Regions from separate parts of the Homo sapiens genome. Here region 2 is linked to region 1. Evidence: promoter capture Hi-C in human tissues and cell types (Jung and others, 2019). All regions are on one chromosome and are shown on one strand. Each heading gives the region's core, a stretch centred on a gene start or on the middle of the fragment in contact. The rest is flanking DNA. Distances are from core to core; before and after follow the strand shown. Region 1 holds the start of GPR3 (G protein-coupled receptor 3). Region 2 overlaps TMEM222 (transmembrane protein 222).

What was found. Contacts are between HindIII fragments. The study calls those that stand out against the background at their distance.
Region 2: a fragment that was not itself captured here is called in contact with the fragment with the promoter of GPR3 in region 1 in 2 of the 25 tissues and cell types used here (bladder and spleen).

The regions. Positions count from the first base shown.
Region 1 is chr1:27,389,956-27,395,659 of GRCh38, reverse strand. It overlaps GPR3 (G protein-coupled receptor 3), which reads right to left and starts at 3,038. Exons shown (of 2, transcript NM_005281.4): 1 at 2,923-3,038; 2 at 1-1,866. The coding sequence starts at 1,861. The coding sequence ends at 869. RefSeq lists enhancers at 650-1,447, 2,276-2,811, 3,349-3,885, 3,886-4,422 and a silencer at 2,835-3,334. The HindIII fragment of the contact is 10,052 bases long and covers 1-5,704 here.
Region 2 is chr1:27,324,315-27,329,741 of GRCh38, reverse strand. The region is part of intron 1 of TMEM222 (transmembrane protein 222); the gene reads right to left. It also overlaps the pseudogene ACTG1P20 and the pseudogene RNU6-48P. Among named protein-coding and RNA genes, the nearest start is that of TMEM222, 4.9 kb to the right of the region's middle. The HindIII fragment of the contact is 5,020 bases long and covers 1-4,404 here.

The sequences.
Region 1 (5,704 bases), core at 1,789-4,288:
TGTGGCCCTGGACGCCAGGCTGGAGTGGAGCTGGGGTTGCATTCTGGTCCCAGCTGCCTGGCCGGGCTGCAGTTTTCCCCAAATGGCCACCAGAGGGCAGTCGGACCCCAGCGCAGAGGAATTTTTGGTTGCTCAGGTGATGGCTTCTTAAAAAAATAAAAAACCAGAGGCTGGTGTGTTCCCCTTCCAAACCCGAGGAGGGCAGGCCTGGGGAGAAGGCTCTGGTTTCTATGATCTCTTCGATAAAAAATAATCCAAAATAATAACAAAATACGTGGTTTCTCTTTCACCCTTTCCCCCCTCCAGGAACTGAGGTCAGAAATGGGGGTGAAGGGACAAGGGATACCCTGGTATGGCCTGGATATCAAGGTGTGGGCCTCTTTTTTGCCCCTTACCACCCATAAGTAAATTTATAAATAAATAAATCAATCATAAATAGACACTGTCTTTGTATATGTGCATATATAATCTTTCTCTCTCCTATTTAGGCAACTATGTGACTAATCTCTCTGACTCTTTAGCTCAGAAATTCAAACATAAAGTGACATGGTCAAGGTCAAGTTTGGGGGAAGAGGGACATCTGGGACTTGGAATGGCACTGTAAAACTCCCAGCATTCTGGAATTGCAACCCAGCTGGGCTGTGAGACATTTCTGAGTAGAACACTGACCACCTGAACATTCTGGAACCGTGGAGCCAGCTGGGCCCCCATAGGGATCTGAACAGAACCTTGAAACACCCAATGTCCTAGAACTCCAGAACCAGCTGGGTCTGGGGGGTGTGGAGCTGGGGGTTTGGAAAGAAGCCCTGGAGAGCCTAACATTCTGGAATTCTGTAGTAATCAGGGTTGAAGGGTCATGAAGACTCAGCTAGACATCACTGGGGGAGCGGGATCGGAAGGGGATCTTGGAAGAGGAACAGCAGCAGCAGACAGCCCACAGCACTTTCTGCACATCCTGGTTGCGGAAGGCGTAGATGATAGGGTTGATCATGGAGTTGTAGGTGGCAGGGAGCAAGGTAAGATAGGTGTAGAGAGGTGGAGAGTGGGCATCACCCAGCAGGCAGTAGACAGTGAAGGGCAACCAGCAGGCGGCAAAGGCTCCAAGCACCACGGCCAGTGTGGCAATGCCCTTGCGGGTGGCCACATAGTGGGAGGCAGGCAGCAGGTGCCGCTGAAGGGCAATCTGCTGGGCATGGCGGCAGACGATGCGGCAGATTTGGGCGTAGAGCTGCAGCATGATGCCAAACACCATGAAGAAGGCAATGGCCAGAACTACCAGATGGTTCTTGGAGAGTGGATAAACCACGCCACATGTGGTCAGGCCATCCAGGCAGTTCCAGGCCAGCACAGGCAGCAGCCCCAGGCCCAGGGCACCTCCCCACACTAAGGCCAGCATCACATAGGTCCGTGTCACTGTTGTCTCTGAATAGTAGGTGAGGGCATTGTACAGAGAAAGGTAGCGGTCGACAGTGATGGCCAGTAGACTGCCGATGCTGGCGGTAAAGGCCATTGCCAGCACGCCAACCAGCACCAGGCTCATCTCCGCTGAGCCGATGCAGAAGACAGCAGCAAAGTGCAGGACCAGGCCCAGGCCTGCCAGCAGGTCTGCCACGGCCAGGCTGCCCACCAGCAGGAACATGGGGGCACGGAAGGCAGGAGTGCCCACGATGATGGCCACCACTAGCGCATTCTCGCAGGACACCAGGGTGCCTGAGATGCAGAGCACCACATCCCAGGCCTTAGGCGAGGGCAGTGGTGCGGCTGGACCTGTGGGCCCCTCTGCTGGGCCCACGCTGCTTACATTCACGTTGCCTGAGCCAGCTGAGAGCCAGGCCAGAGGGCTGCCTGCACCCCACATCATGGTACCTGCAGGAGAAAGGCCTTGTGAGAAGCTGACCAAGCTGGGTGATGGGAGTTGGGGTCTGGAGGGGGTGAGGTGCTTCTCAGGATACGTGGTGGGAGTCTCTCCTCAGGATACCTGATAGGGTCCCAATGCCTTATCCCCACATTCATGCCCTGGGGCTCTTCCCAGGATACCGCTGTCCCCTCCAATGCCCCCAGGCCTCTAAACAGGGGTCTCTTCCTGGGGATCCCTGTCCTAGGTCCTGCAGGTCTCTTTTTCCCACGTGTGTGACCAGAGGAGAGACAGAAGAAGGGGTACTATAAGTGGAAGAGGGCCATAGGATCCAGGGGATGCCCCCGAAGGCTCAAGATTGGGGTAGGGAAACATCTACCCCATCAGGGAGACTGAGCAGCTCCGCTCCCTCCCATCAGAGATGATGATGCTAGCTCGTGCCTGAGGCTCCCAGACCCCTCACGATTTTCAGTACTGCCAGCCTTAGACTCCGCCCCCAGGGAATGCGCGTGAAGCTCCCGCCAGCCATCACCCCGCACTCCCGCGGTAACACCTGGGAACTCAGCCCCCCACCCCCCACCCTCCCAGACTTCTGTTCCTGGCTGGACCCTTCTTTCCGCCTGAATCTCTAGGTCTCTGGGCAGACCCCCCTGCTGGAAGACTGGATCCCTGAGTCAGATGCCTCCTTCTGCCCGGACACCTGGATTTTGGGCCTGACTCTGCCTCCTGCCTGGATACCTGGATTCCTAAATTGGACACCTCCTGCTGTTCGGACCCCTGGGTCCCTGCCCCAGACGCCTCCTGCCGGCTTAACCTCAGATGACCATCAGTCCCTCCAGGGCCTCGGGTCCCTGCAGGAATGCTTACCCTTCGCCGGGTCATCCAACTCAACCCCAGCACTCGAGCACTTGGGCCCAAGCCTGCTAACCCAGAATCGCCTAAACCCAGAATTCCCACCTCGAACTCGAACCCCGGCCGGCCACTAGGAGCCTTCCGCCGGCCCAGTGCCCCAGCATCCTGCGTGCCCTTCAGGACCCCTGGTGCCCGCGGCGGGGCCCGCTACTCACCGCTCAGGACCAGGCGCGGCCGGGCCGCGGGGAGGCTCCGCTCGGGTCCTGGCGGCGCAGGGCGTGCGTGGACCCCGAGAAGCCCCCGCGGCCGCGGGAGAAGCGGCGTGAGTCACCCCGCCCCGCCCCCGGCCACCGGTTCGGTGACGTCAGCGGTCCGATCAGCCAATGGGCGCGGCGCGCTGGGGCGCAGCGCGCGTTGCGCGGCATAGTAATAAGGCCTCGCACCGCCCGCTCCCCCATTCATAAAAAGCGACCGTGGCTGCGGCCCCGCCCCCTCCCGAGTCCGCCCGCGCTGTCCTTGACGCGGCGCCCTCTGCGGGCCGGGGGTTTCAGAGGCGCCGGTGCGAGAGCCTTGAAGTCTCAGAGAGGCTGCAGGGAACGTGGTGGAAGAGTGGAAAGGGGGCCCGGCTAGGCTGTGGGGTGATGGGACCCTTGGGTGGCAGAGAGGCTGACGAGATCCAGGTGACGAAGGAAGAGCTTGTGATGGGGCTGGTTGGGCTTCCCTGGTGAGAATGACAGGGTTTCCAAGATGATGGGGCCCTGAGGTGACGATGACAGGGAGCACGAGGGAGCGGGGAGGTGGGTGGCAGTGACGACATTAGCATGGTGACAGAATCTTGGGGTGGGGGGTGATGGCCGTGGGACGCTAACGGTAGAGGGGAAGCCCTCAGGGCAACCATGGCAGTGTCAGGGTGACTATGCAGCAGGGGGGAGTTCAGGGACCCCGGGATGGCAGAGGCAGCGGCCTGGGAACATGGAGTGTCCAGGTGACTTCAGGTCACCATTACCCTGTCAGAATGGCTGGGGTACTGAAGCGACAATGCTAAGCCATGAGGACTGTGGGGCCCTGGAACGAAGATAGCAGGTGGCTGTGGTGAGTGGGCTCCAGGGTGAGGGGCACAGGGTAGAGGGTCTGGACTGACAGTGACCAGGCAGGTAAGTTGCTGCCAGGGCAAGTCCCGTGATGCCGGGGCTGGGATAAGAGCTGGGTGACGTCACTCATGTCAGCCCAATAGCGCCCTCACAGCACCGGAGGGGTGGGCCTGGCAAGATTTCAAAACCTGAATTATTTATTCCAGTATCTAGAAAGCCAGCGTGGAGGGGGTGAGGGGTGCACTTCCCTGAAGCAGGAGGAGATGGGGAGCCGGGAAGAACTTGGAAGCAGAAAGCCTGGCAGCTCAGTCCTCAGGGCAGGCCCCTCTCAGCCTCCTATTTTAGGCATCCTGATGGGTGGAGCAAGGAGAAAGAGCTCCCTCTTCCCCAACGCCATCTGCCCTTAGTCCAGGGGAACCACTCTGGGCAGACTTCTCCAGATGTGACAGATGTGGCCAGTCCTGCGGCAGGGGGACTGGCTGCTCCTTCTCCCTGTGTCTCTTGCCTTGATGCTCCCTGGAATCATGCAGGCCTGTGGGAGGGGAAGATGAGGTTAAGAGGCCTGAGGATCCCAGGCCCCACTGGACACCCCCATCACAGCACCATCACTGCAGCCCCCATGGTCAGCCTCCACCAGGCAGGTTTTGGGTTTGAGTGTGAGGCAGCAGAAGGTCAAGTGGCAGGGAACATGGGAGGAGGAGGGGGTCGGAGCTGGAGAAGAGGATTCATTTCAGGTTGGATGTGGTGAGTTTAGGGGGCTTAGGGGGTGGAAGTGTCCAATCTCAGTTTCTCCATTTCCTAGCTGGGTGACTTTGGAGAGTTTCTTCAGCTCTCTGTGCCTATTTCCTCATCTAAAACACAGGGATAATATTAGTACCGGCCTCATGGGGTTGTTGAGTGGGTTCTACTTGCCATTGGCCATCAATGTTACAGCTGGATAATGAGGGACACCTGGGAGGTGTAGGCATGCAGGTGGCAACTGATGTTTTAGGGGTAAATAATGTCACCCAGGGGCGGGAGCAGAGAGTGAGGAGTGGCTTCAGGGGCTCCTCCTCCTGGGCTCTTGCACCTGACCCCTCTGACAACAACCCTTCTCTTCATCCAGGTCTCTGCTCCCGAATTACTTCTGAAACAGGCTGCTCTGAACTCTCAGATCGCCACTGGCCTCCCCATCACTCTCCCTCCCCTTCTCTTGATTTATTCATTTTTGGAGGATGAAGCACTCTTGAAATTATAAATGAATTCATGTTTGTTTGTTTTACTACATGTCAGCCCCACTAGAATCTAAGCTCCAAGAGGATACTGACTATGTCCCATTTCTGCTAGAGAACAGTGCCTGATATGTAATGGGTATTGAAGAAATAATCATGGACTGGATGATTGACCTAAAAGGGAACAACCAGAGGAAAAAAGGAAAACAGAGAGAATAGTAATATGCCTGGTGCCCAGGAAGGTGGGGGTGTCAGAGAGAGGATCCAAGGGCATCAGGGCCCCAAGACTCAGGGTCAGGGATCCATTTACTCCCCCATCAGAGCTGGGTCCCTACAGAGTTCTGGTCTCTGCGATGGGTGAAGGCTGCTGGGAGGTTGGCATCAAAGGGGGGTATCAGGGACTATCTTCTACTACTCTGAATGGCAATTATATATTTTTTAAGTTTTCGTAGCTTATTGATCCTCTGGTGAAAAATCTTCACCATTGCTGCAGATAAAGCCATTCCTGTTTGCCAGCACCAGCACCACACTCTTGTGACTCCCTGGCTGTCGTCATTCTGTTCTTGAGTTCCTTTAGCTGTTTTCTTGAGGTCTTTTTCTTTTATGTCTTGCAAGTCTGTGTTTGGATTAATTTTTCTTTGCATAATCCAAGGAATCATAAATCATAACCAAGCCAGTTGTCTTAACACCACCAA
Region 2 (5,427 bases), core at 645-3,144, 65 kb after region 1:
TCACCCCTGGGAAATAACATTTGCCAAAACTCATTGAACTGTACTCTTAAAATGTGTACATTTTATTATATGTAAACTATAATTCAATAAAATTGATAAAAACAACTAGAAAGAATCCAAATGTTCAACAACAGTACGATGAATAAGTGTGGTATAGTTATACATTGAAATAGTCCATAACAATGAAAAACAGTGTCACTTCTGCTACACACAACACAGGCTTTCACAGACATAAGGGTGAATGAAGGAAATCTTACACAGAGTACGTAACATAGCACTCTGTTTACGTGAAGTCCAAGAAAAGGCAAGACTGATCTATGGCTAGAGGTCCACAGCGGGGTGGAATCTGTGGTAGAACTGACTGGGAGGGCACAAGGGGGTCCTCTGGGTCTTAGCATTGCTTTCTAGCCCCCGTCTGGGTGGCGGTTACATGAGTGTGTGATATGCAAAAATTCTTCCTGCTGTATACTTGAGATTCGCACACCGTTTGGTACATAAGTTATACCTCAATAAGAAAGTTAAAAAAAAAAAAAAAGGTGGGCGGTCATGACACCAGTATGGGTGGGGGAGTTCAGGAAAGGCTTCCCTGAGGAAATAACAAAGAAACAGAATGTGCAAGGGTAGAAATTGGAACAGAAGCATGGTGTATGCCAGGAAATAAAAGTTCCTTTTTTATAAACCATGGGCATTAAAAAACAACAATAAATCTCAGATGCACCCCAATATGTCACACATAGGAACCCCAGACCTGTCTGTGTTCTGAGAACCATGGCCCTACAGGACCTGGGTGCTGGAGAGACTGATCCAGTTTAAGGAGAACTCACAGGGCCAGTGGCCGAGTCCTGGCCTCAATGCTGCCTGGGCACGAGCATAAAGCACCTGGCTAGGGGTGCAGGCCAAGCCTCCAGAGACGCAGTTTAAAAAAGCAGTTACAGGGGGCTGGGGTGGAGCCAGTAAAGACTTCACAGAGGAGGTGACTTTTAACCTTGACCTGTGAAAGGACACAACATCAACAGGCAGAAAACAACACTGCAGAGCAAGAAAGTGGTACATGTGCCTGGAAGAACGAAAGGGGGAGAGGCCAGCTCAGGGGCTACTGCTGTACCACTGGCAAGAGATGATGGAGGTCCTGACTAGAGGATCAGGGGCAGGGTGGTGAGAAACACATGGATTCAAAAGATCTTTCAAATGAAGACTGGAGAGTTTACGACTGACAGGATGGGGGTCTTCCAGGTCTACAGCTTGAGCGCTTGAGACAATGGTAGGGCCAGAGTGGTCTTTTGAGAATTGAACTCAGATTCCATCATTCCCCTGTTCAACACCTATTAATGGCTTCCTACTACACTTATAATACACTTCGAACTTCTTCCAACACTGTGGTGCTAATTATCCCTTGAACTTCATCTCAGTCCCCTCTCTAGCTACACTGCCTGCTTGTGGCCTCAAACACGCCAAATCCTCCCACCCCATGCTTTCTCTGTATCTGCCCTCTCCTCCGTCTGGAACACTCTTCCCAGAGAGCATGGCACAGCTGACTCCTCACTGATTAGGCCTCAGCCTCACTGTCACCTTCGGAGGTCTTGCCTGAACGGTGTCTTCCAGCACAGCCACCCAATCCCAGATCCCACTACAATGCTTTACTTCCCTCATAGTATCTACTACCATCCAAAATTATCTTGGTTATTTATATGCTGTCTCTCCACTAGAACATAAGCTCCAAGAGAGACAGGATTTTTTCTTGTTTACTACGGCAGTGCCTGTATATAGCTGCAACTCACTAAATATTTGTTGACTAAATAATGAATGAACATCCTGCATTTAAGAGTAGAGTCTGGGGCTGGGTGCTGTGGCTCACGCCTGTAATCATAGCACTTTGGAAGGCCAAGGCAGTTGGATTGCTTGAGCCCAGGAATTTGAGACCAGCCTGGGCAACACAGTGAGACCCTGTATCTAAAAAAATCTAAAAATTAGCTGGAGGATCACTTGATCCAAGGAAGTTGAGGCTGTAGTGAGCCAAGGCTGGGCCCAGGAAGTTGAGGCTGCAGTGAGTCAAGGCTGGGCTCAGTGGCTCACGCCTGTAATCCCAGCACTTTGGGAGGCAGAGGCCGGTGGATGACTTGAGGTCAGGAGTTCGAGACCAGCCTGGGAAACATGGCGAAACCCTGTCTATACTAAAAATACAAAAATTAGATGGGCATGGTGGCATGTGCCTGTAATCCCAGCTACTCGAGAGGCTGAGGCACGAGAATCACTTGAACCCCGGAGGCGGAGGATGCAGTGAGCTGAGATCACGCCACTGCATTCCAGCCTGGGTGACAGAGCAAGACTCTGTCTCTAAATAAATAAATAAATAAAAATTAAAAACAACAAACAAACGCCAACAGTGAAGTCATGCTCAGATATCATCTGGGTTGAGGCTTGCCTTTGTTCTGGGCAAGTTACTAATTCCCATCTCTCTGTGGATAGTAAAAATTACCTTAATGAGGAGCTATTGTGAGGATTAAATGGATAGACTTATCCATTTACACAGTGCCTAGGACTCTGCCTTCCGCTTGGCAGCTGCTCAATGTTGTCATCTCGAGGTGTTCAATACATAAGCACTATCTGACTGACTGCACTAACATAGAATAAGTTGCAGAAGATCCACAGGCCACAGGATGGACATTCAGGATTATGGGAAAGTAGCTCATCCTGATCTCAGGACTGCCCTCCACCCCCATCTCTGCCCCCTAATCCTTTCATCTGCTTGGGAGGAAGTCTGGGTCCAACCAGGATTCCACACGCCACAGCTGTGCTGGCAGCAGTGGATGGAAATCAGAGTAAAGGCTGGAAGCCCCAGAGAAGAAACCCTCAAAGTGGTTTGTCAGCCTGGAAGCTCCAGGAAGGCAGCTCCAGAGCCGCTTTGTGGACTACCTTCTATTCAGGACCTAGTACATAATAGGTGCTTTATAAAGATACAATAAATGAATAAATGACTCACTCATCCTGGAGCTCAATCTGGGAAGGTAGGCTAACTCAGCAAAAGAGCACCACACTGGCTTCTAAGCCTTACTTCCTCATCTATAAAATGGTGACAACAGTATCTACTTTCATAGGTTGACATTAGGATTGAGTGAGTGAACATACAATGTTTAGGACAGAGTAAGCATCTAATCTTAGCTGTTTTTATTAGTAGCAGCAGCTATTAAACTAGTTTCTTTTTTTTCCCTTTTTTTTGGTTACAGCAGCACTTTTATTTTTCCTTACACAATGACATGCCGCTGGGGCCTAATGTTCTCACATAACAGTAGAAAACCAAAATCTGTTCTCATCTCCTTAAAGAATCGAGAATTGCATACAAAAAAAAACCTTACATAAATTAAAAGGATGAATACATTTACAGGTGTAAATGCAAACTGCTTCCAACTCAAAGCAAGTCACAGCCCACAGTGTTCTGGCAGGAAAACATCAGCTAAGAAAGGAAACTGGGTCCTATGGCTTGGCCTTTCCAACCCTGACAGACCAGCAGGACAGAAACAACTGGTTCAGGAGCCCTTGTCAGCCTCTAGAGAAATCCCAGAACACTCAGCCATGACATATTAATACCCTGCAAAGATCGGAGACTGCTGGCCATGCAGACTCACCAAGTCGCACTTGTCTTCCACAAGCACATTCTTACCTTGCCACGCAGTGACCAAGCCACATGTACTAAGGGTTGAAAGCAAAGATATGTACAGGGTATTAAACAAATACCAAGGGGAACAGTTAACTTGAATACAAGGTCAAAATCAGCAACAAGTTCTACAATCCAGTGCTGATATTAGATACAAGCTTCAACGACAATTTCTTTTCGAAGGCTTATTCCATTTTCGTGAGGCTAGCATGAGGTATATGCATTTGCCAGGGCCAATTTATACTTCTGAATTAACCCATGCAGCAAATGCTACGCATCGGCTCGCAGTCCATTTAGAAGCATTTGCGGTGGACGATACAGGGGCCTGACTCGTCATACTCCTGCTTGCTAATCCACATCTGCTGGAAGGTGGACAGTGAGGCCAGGATGGAGCCGCTGATCCACACAGAGTACTTGCACTCTGGGGGCACAATGAGCTTGATCTTCATGGTGCTGGATGCCAGGGCGTTAATCTCCTTCTGCATCCTGTCGGTGATGCCCGGGTACATGGTGGTGCCTCTGGATAGCCCTATGTTGGTGTACAGGTCTTTGCGGATGTCTACGTCACACTTCATGATGGAGTTGAACGTGGTCTCGTGGATGCCGCAAGATTCCATACCCAGGAAGGAAGGCTGGAACAGCGCCTCCGGACACTGGAACCGCTTGTTGCTGATGGTGATGACCTGGCCATCCGGCAGCTTGTAGCTCTTCTCCAGGGAGGAGGATGTGGTAGTGGCCATCTCCTGCTCGAAGTCCAGGGAGACAAAAATATGGAACGCTTCACGAATCTGCATGTCATCCTTGCGCAGGGGCCATGCTAATCTTCTCTGTATCGTTCCAATTTTAGTATATGTGCTGCTGAGGCGAGCACTAAACTGGTTTTTCATGCAGAATTACCAACATCTCTGAGGGGGTAGACAGATCTTTGGGTTCCATTTCCTCCTCTGATCTCTCCTCCAAAGACAGGTGACAGTTACTTGCGCCACATCTATGCCTAGCTCTGCAATCATCACTATACAGTAATACTACGATGGCTAATTGACCTTTCTCTCCCTCCTGCTGGAGGTGAGTCCTTTGAAGGTGACATGGTTTGGATCTGTCCCCGCCAAATCTCCTGTCAAACTGTAGTCCCCATATTGGAGGTGGGGGCTGGTGGTGGGATCATGAGGCTGGTTTTCTCATAAATGGTTCAGCACCATCCCTTTGGTGCTGTTCTCGTGATAGTGAGTTTTCCCAAGATCTGGTTGTTTAAAAGTGTGTAGCATCTCCCCCCTCACTCCCTCTTGCTCCTAATCCCGCCATGTGAGATGCCTCCCTCCCCCTTTGCCTTACACCATAACTGGAAGCTTCCTGAGGTCTCCCCAGAAGCAGAAGCCACTATGCTTCCTGTATAGCCTGCAGAAGCATGGGTCAATTAAACCTCTTTTCTTTAGAAATTATCCAGTCTCAAGTATTAGTGCAAGAATGGACTAACACAGAAGGGAACATGAACCCTTTGACAGGAACACAGTGTCTTATTCATCTTGGTCTTATGAACACCTGTACACAGATCTGAATAGAAATGGGCTATGAGCTGCTTTTGGCCCAGGTGACAAGGGATTGTGGTGCCTCCACCTCACGCTGCTACCATTCTCCGCAGAGGACCACGCCACAGATGGTGTTTTTGAGAATAAGAAAGGCTAAAGAGAGTTTAGGATCACAAGACAGGTTTTAAGAAAACCAATACATTTCCTGAGTATCCCTCCCAGTTATTTTCTTTTTTTTTGAAACGGAGT